Linked DNA regions of Homo sapiens: region 1 is linked to region 2. The links are contacts of gene promoters, found by promoter capture Hi-C in blood cells and fetal thymus (Javierre and others, 2016). All regions are on one chromosome and are shown on one strand. The core of a region is centred on a gene start or on the middle of the fragment in contact, and the rest is flanking DNA. Distances in the headings are between cores, read along the strand shown. Region 1 holds the start of TCTN3 (tectonic family member 3). Region 2 holds the start of R3HCC1L (R3H domain and coiled-coil containing 1 like).

Region 1 (3,697 bases), core at 322-2,821, 2.4 Mb after region 2:
AGTAAAGTCAAATGTCCTAAAACTTACCTGAGTTAAATGATTCACTTGTAAAGGGAGGTGTTGACCAGATTTTAGGTAAGTGTACTAGATTTTAGATAACTCTTAACAGATGTTAATTTATATACTAAAACTAAATATCCAAAATAATCCAGATGTCAGAACCGTGGACATAGGAAAATACTGGGTCTAGGAGGAGCAATATTTTGATCATCTACAGTCCCACTGTACAATATGGTAGCTACTCACGTCTGTGGTTAACTTTGAATTAATTACAATTTAAAAATTAAAAATTCAGGCCAGGCACAGCGACTCACAGCTGTAATCCCAGCACTTTAGGAGGCCAAGGCGGGAGGGTCACTTGAGGTCAGGAATTCGAGACCAGCCTGGACAACATGGTGAAACCCCATCTCTACTAAAAATAAAAATAAAATTAGCCGGGCGTGGTGGCGCGTGCCTGTCATCCCAGCTACTCAGGAGGCTGAAACAGAAGAATCACCTGAATCCTAGAGGCAGAGGTTGCAGTGAGCTGAGATCACACCACTGCACTCCAGCCTGAGCGACAGAGCGAAACACCGTCTCAAAAAAAAAAAAAAAAAAAAAAATCAGCTCCTCAGTCACGCTAGCCACATTTCAAGCGCACAATTGCCACATAAGGCCGGTGACTACCATGCTGGACAGTGCAGCTACGGTACATTTCCAATACCGAAGGAAAGTCCCATGGCCCGCGCTGCTGTGGGGAATCGGAAGAGGCACGCCATTCCCGGGAAGAACAAAAACCTCCTAGAGAGGCTTAAAAAATTTGCCATTAACACGGGGAAAAAAATCTTCTATTTCCATTCCTCCATCTTATTTTCTCACCTCCTAGACAATGTTTCTTTTTTTTATTCTTTCTCTCCCTATTTTCTCACATTTTTCCTGCCCTTTTTTCTTATTTTTCTCTCACTGCTTTTTCTAACAACAAACATGCAGTCCATCTTTAATGATTTGATGCATTTCTTTAGGGTTTTCAAAATTTCTCAATGTTAAAATGTAAGGAGCTGAATGAACATTATTTCTAATGTGTTTTTTTTTTTTTTAAAAAAGCCATATTTAGAGGAGACTGTTTTTTAAGGTATGTGACCTTAGGTGTGTTTCCCCCACCTGAGAACATTATTCTTCCATAGAAAGGGTTTCTCACCGTTGGAATCCGGGGTGAAAAAAAATTTGCAATTCTAGTTCCGGCCTCTGGGGTTTCCTTGCACCGGAGGCCGGGCTCAGTCCTCTGGGCCGCGAAGTGGGCGCGGAACCTCTCGGTCCGCCGAACTCCTACCGCCACCTAGCGGAAGGAAGGCGCAAGGGCTTCTTCGTCACTGACGGTTGCCAGGCAACGGAGGCACGGCCCGGCCCGCGTTAAGGAGGAGGGCGCAGACCGAAGGACACTGAAAGAGCTGTAACAACCCCACTTTCGATTGGTTGAAGAGCTCTCAGCCTTCTCATGAGCCAATGAGAAGAGGCACGCGGATGGCGTCAGACGCTATGCGACTCCTCCCACCCACGCTCTGGCAATGCGATTGGAGACCGCGGAGGCCTACGTCGGACCCGGAGGCCCTGAATGCCCCATGCGCACCCCACAGCTCGCGCTCCTGCAAGTGTTCTTTCTGGTGTTCCCCGATGGCGTCCGGCCTCAGCCCTCTTCCTCCCCATCAGGGGCAGTGCCCACGTCTTTGGAGCTGCAGCGAGGGACGGATGGCGGAACCCTCCAGTCCCCTTCAGAGGCGACTGCAACTCGCCCGGCCGTGCCTGGACTCCCTACAGTGGTCCCTACTCTCGTGACTCCCTCGGCCCCTGGGAATAGGACTGTGGACCTCTTCCCAGGTGAGGGAAAACGTTGTGGGGGTGGAAACTTACTTCTGAGATCTAAAATTCTGTGAGCAAAGTTGAGCTGCCACAAAGCAGGAGTGGGGCTGTCGGAAGAAGGAGGGTGAGCACCTGGGAGAGTTTGGGGATCTTCATCCCACTCACTCTGTGTCGTACTTTCATAGTCTTACCGATCTGTGTCTGTGACTTGACTCCTGGAGCCTGCGATATAAATTGCTGCTGCGACAGGGACTGCTATCTTCTCCATCCGAGGACAGTTTTCTCCTTCTGCCTTCCAGGCAGCGTAAGGTGAGCTTCGTTGCTCAGACTGAATCCTAAAGGGGTTTGGGGCCTACAACGGGTAACATTTGGATGTAAGAAGAGTTAGTCTTTGTGCCTCCCACCCGTACTTCCACTCCTAGGACATTCCCTTGGTTTTTCCTAGGAATTGCCTTTTCTGATTCTCTAGAGCAGGGCTGGCCAGTAGAATAAGACCTTCGTGTCGTCCTATAGGTGCCCAAGGAGTCCTCTTTGGCATCATCTGGCCGATATTGCTGGGACACTCTTTTTTGGACCTGCCCCGCCCCTTCTAAATATATCTTCTCCCTCCTCTTTCCTCACAGGTCTTCAAGCTGGGTTTGTGTAGACAACTCTGTTATCTTCAGGAGTAATTCCCCGTTTCCTTCAAGAGTTTTCATGGATTCTAATGGAATCAGGCAGTTTTGTGTCCATGTGAACAACTGTGAGTAGAAACATGTTGGTTGTTCTCATTTTCTAACACAGGAGTGTTATATTTTGTCTTCCCTGGCCCACATTGGAAGAAGAATTGTCTTGGGCCACACGTAAAATACACTAACGATAGCTGATGAGTTAAAAACAACAACAAAAAAAAAGCAAAAAAAATGTCAAATGTTTTAAGAAAGTTTACAAATTTGTGTTGTTGGGCTGCATTCATAAGCCGTCCTGGGCTGCATGCGGCCGGTGGGTTGCAGGTTGGACAAGCTTGGTCTAACATTTATTGAGAATTGGCTTTTATTCTGGCCTTTTTTCCATTTCTTTTTTTTAAACTTTTTTTTTTTTTGTCCTTTGAATCTCTACGCCTCTTTCTGCCTCTTCTCTCTTATTACGGAATACATTTGCATTTTTGTTTTTTTTTGAGACGGAGCCTCCACCTATCGCCAGGAGTGCAGTGCAGTGGCACGATCTCAGCTCACTGCAACCTCCACCTCCCGGATTAAAGTGATTCTCCTGCCTTAGCTTCCCGAGTAGCTGGGACTATGGGTGTGTGCCACCATGACCAGCTAATTTTTGTATTTTTAGTAGAGACGGGGTTTTGCAATGTTGGCCAGGATGGTCTTGATCTCTTGACCTCATGGGCCACCCACCTCGACCCCCAAAGTGCTGGGATTACAGGTGTGAGCCACCGCGCCTGGCCACATTTGCAACTTTTTATGTTCTGTTGGCTATGGATCAGAAAACTCATAAAGAACTTTAATTTCAATCATTTTAATCATTCCTCTTAACTCAGATAATCACAGATAGACTATATTCCCCACTTACTACAATCTCCATGAGGGTACTAACTGAATCCCCAGTGCCTAACACATAGTAAGCACCAAATAATGTTTGAATGAACATCTTTGACAAATGAGTCTATGCCAACCTTATTTTCATTTCATGAGGCAACAGTGTAGGAGGAGCATTAGATTAGGATCTCAGTCCTGCCATTTCCTTACCAGCTATACAGACTTGGGCAAATCCCTTAGCATTTCCAGGCTCGTTTCTTCAACTGTAAAGTGAGAAATAATATCATTGGCTTTGTATATGAAAGCGCTCTACAACTGTAGAGTACAATAAAGAT
Region 2 (3,582 bases), core at 1,026-3,525:
GCCCCAAAAACTTTTGACACCACCAGTGGAAAATTCCACACCCGACCTTATGTGACAGGTCTTAGTAAAAATTCAATCCAAACTTAGTGTTATGCCCAACAGAGTCTCAATCTATCGGCCAGGCTAGAGTGCAGTGGCCCAATCTCTGCTCACTGCAACTTCCACCTCCAGGACTCAAGCGATTCTCGCGCCTCAGCCTCCCGAGTAGCTGGGACTACAGGCGTGCACCACTACACCTGGTTAATTTTTTGTACTTTTAATAGAGATGGGGTTTCATTATGTTGCCCAGGCTGGTCTTGAACTCCTGAGCTCAGGCAATCTGCCTGCCTCAGCCTCCCAAAGCGCTAGGATTACAGGCGTGAGGCACCGCGTCTGGACACAAATTATTAAATTATTAAAAATACTATATAAAATTACCTTTAGGCTATGTATATAAGGTATATATGAAACCTAAATCAATTTCATGTTTAGATTGGGGTCCCATCCCAAAGATATCTAACTATGTATATGCAAATATACCAAAATCTGAAATTTGAAACACTCTGGTACCAAGCATTTCAGATAAGGATACTCCAACCTGTAGTAAGACACAGCACCAGGACTTGAACTCAAATTTGCTCGAATTTGTACACTAAGCTAATGCAACTTACTGTCATCCTCTCTTGTTTTTTGGACCATTTTCAAGTATTCTTCAATCAATAAATTCAGAATAAACACAGACTAAAAATACCTAACTACACTTTCTTACCCCTTTAAAAATTAATCGCAGAGGTCGGGCACAGTGGGCACAGTGTCAAACGCCTGTAATACCAACACTTTGGGAGGTCGAGGCGGGAGGATCATTTGAGCCCAGGAGTTAGACCAATCTGGGCGACATAGTGAAATCCTGATTCTACCCAAAAAAAAAAAAAAAACTGATTGCAGAATTAGCATTCTCTGTAAGGGGAAAAATAAGACAATAAGCAACTTGCTTAGTCTCAAAGCTTAATGTCAAAAAAAATTAAACAGATGGGATATTTGGCTATTTATATTCTGAATTTCAACTGTGACACAAGACACAAGACCTGCTGGGGACAGGTATTAGTTGTAGTACAACCATATCTGAGGAACGTTTACTGCTTTATGCTTGTACCTGTGTGATACTGAAGGAAGGTTATAACAGCAAGAGATAGTTGTGTGTGCTGAGGAAGAAGAGTCTAAATTCTGGTGGGCCTTAAAATCCAGATGAAGTTTTAAATTGACTCCACAGGTGGTAACGCCCTAAGGTCACCTCTTCACTAGGAACCTGGCATAAAAACATCTGTATGGTTCAGATTCGTTTCCAAAGACACTTTCCCCCTATTTATTAACTAATTTGATCTTCGTATAGACATGAACCTGGTTTTAAAACTCAACTGACCTAGACTGGAGACTGGGGGATGGCAAGGTTATACCCGAAACATACTTTAGAGTTCAAAGCTTTCGCAGGAATATCACTTCTGCTGAAGCCCACAACCCTGGAAGGCCGCAGGGCAAAGAACATTAACCCCACTTTTCAGACAACGAAACCGAGGCTGCGCTAAACAGACTACTGTACAAAAGATCACAGGTCCAGCCAAGTGGCGGACTGAGACTTCCCCCAGGATATCAGACTCCAAATCCTGTGCTCCTTCCCGTACACAACTGAGAGGGGGCTGCACTCACAAACTTTAAAGATCGGACTTGGGGTTTTTCGCAGGCCTGCCAAGAAAAAGCAGGAAGTACATGCTCCTTTATAGATTGCTCACTCCCAGCCCGTAGCCCGGGGCTCCCGGGCAGCGGAGGAGGCTCAAAGGCGAGGCTCGAAGCGAAGCCCGGAAACCGCCGGCAGCCCTGGGGGCCCACGGCCCCGCAGCCCCGAGGGGGTAACCAGGGACCCCGCTCAATACCTGTTGAAACCCAGAAAAAGCACGTCCTTTCCGCCAGGATCATTTGGGGCGAGCGCCCAAAGCGAGCACGAGCCCCAGTGAGTGCAAAAGAGCCCCGGGAGGGTCCCTCTCAACCGCGGGCCCGCAGGGGTCAGAAGGCGGGAGCTTCCCAGTAACCTCCGCCCCAGGCAGGGGGCGGCCCCTCGCGTCACATGAGGAAAAAAAATACCAGCAACAAACGACGGAATGGAAGTCTTGTCCCGGGCTGTGAAGGGAGAAGTGGGGATTAAAAATCCTAGCTTGAGGTACAGAGGGAGGGGATACGGGGCTGGTTGTTACCGGCGCGCTGTTGCTCTCCGCTTCCGCCGTCTCCGCGAAGCTCTATCTCTTCCGCTCGCGCCGCTGGGGCGCGCGTCAGGCCTCGGCTCCGCCCCCAACGCCGTGGGGCCTTCTGGGGGTTGTAGTTTCCGCGAGGCCCGGCCGCGCCCACTGAGTTCAGGTCACGTAGGGGAGAAGCTGGCAAAATGGCGAGTGCCGGAGAGCATTTCTGCTCCTGTCCCTTCAACCCTTCCTCATTCCTCTCGGCTATATACGTGCGCAAATCTCCTTACATTCCACTCAATTATACCATCTCACTTCCTCCGTTCACAGCCAAGTTTTTTGAAAAAGATAATCTACACTGTCTCTACTTGCTCATCTGTGTTCACTCCTCATCGCAGCTTCCGCCCCCATGGAAAATGCCTTGTTGTCATAAGTGTCCTTGTTGCCAAACTCATTGGAGGTATTTCCGGACTCATCTAACTCAAGCTTTAGTCATTTGACGCTATTGGGCATTATCACTTATTTTCTATGACACTATCCAGGTTTTCCTTCTCTGAATTCATTCTACTTTGTTTCCTCTAACTTACCTCTAAAATATTGGTGTTTTCCAGAGTTCTTAAAATTGGGGTGGGAGAGGGGACACTCCAGTCCCTTCTCACCTGAGCTCATTGTTTGTATTCCCAACTTCCTAGACAAGACCTCTCCTCATCCATGCCCACAGGCATCTCCAGTGTCCTTGAAAAGTGAACTACTGGGGCCAGGAACAGTGGCTCATGCCTGTAATCCCAGCACTTTGGGAGGCCAAGGCAGGTGGATCACCTGCGGTCAGGAGTTCGAGACCAGCCTGACCAACATGGTGAAACCCTGTCTCTACTAAAAGTACAGAAATTAGCTGTGCGTGGTGGTGGGCACCTGTAATCCCAGCTACCCAGGAGGCCGAGGCAGGAGAATTGCTTGAAGGAGAATCGCTTGAACCCGGGAGGCGGAGGTTGCAGTAAGCCAAAATTGCACCACTGCACTCCAGCCTGGGCAACACAGGGAGACTCCGTCCCCCAAAAAAAGAAAAGTAAACTACTACCCCTCCTCCCTACTCATTAATATTCACTCTTTAACCTGATTCCTCCTTTCTCACTTCCTCTTCCTCCAATATTCAAATGGTCACCAAATCTTGGAGATTCTATTGTAGCAGGACGAGCCGCAGACAAAACCTCTCAGACACCAAGTTGTAGAACGAAGGGCTTTATTCAGCTGGGAGCATCGGCAAGCTACTGTCCTAAAATCCAAGCTCCCCGAGTGCACAATTTCTGTCCCTTTTAAGGGCTCACCACACTAAAGATTTCACATGAAAGGGTCGTGATTGATTGAGCAATCTGGG

What was found. Contacts are between HindIII fragments. The CHiCAGO score rates a contact against its expected background, and 5 or more counts as called.
Region 1: the fragment with the promoter of TCTN3 here is called in contact with the fragment with the promoter of R3HCC1L in region 2 in 2 of 17 cell types (fetal thymus and total CD4 T cells); the score reaches 8.2 in fetal thymus.

The regions. Positions count from the first base shown.
Region 1 is chr10:95,691,801-95,695,497 of GRCh38, reverse strand. TCTN3 (tectonic family member 3) reads left to right here and starts at 1,571. Exons shown (of 14, transcript NM_015631.6): 1 at 1,571-1,854; 2 at 2,022-2,145; 3 at 2,460-2,578. The coding sequence starts at 1,599. It also overlaps a transcript of ENTPD1 not described here. RefSeq lists enhancers at 611-1,112, 1,587-1,866. The HindIII fragment of the contact is 4,584 bases long and covers 1-2,840 here.
Region 2 is chr10:98,133,350-98,136,931 of GRCh38, reverse strand. R3HCC1L (R3H domain and coiled-coil containing 1 like) reads right to left here and starts at 2,275. Exons shown (of 10, transcript NM_001351015.2): 1 at 2,226-2,275. RefSeq lists enhancers at 1,577-1,716, 1,059-1,848. The HindIII fragment of the contact is 1,235 bases long and covers 1,461-2,695 here.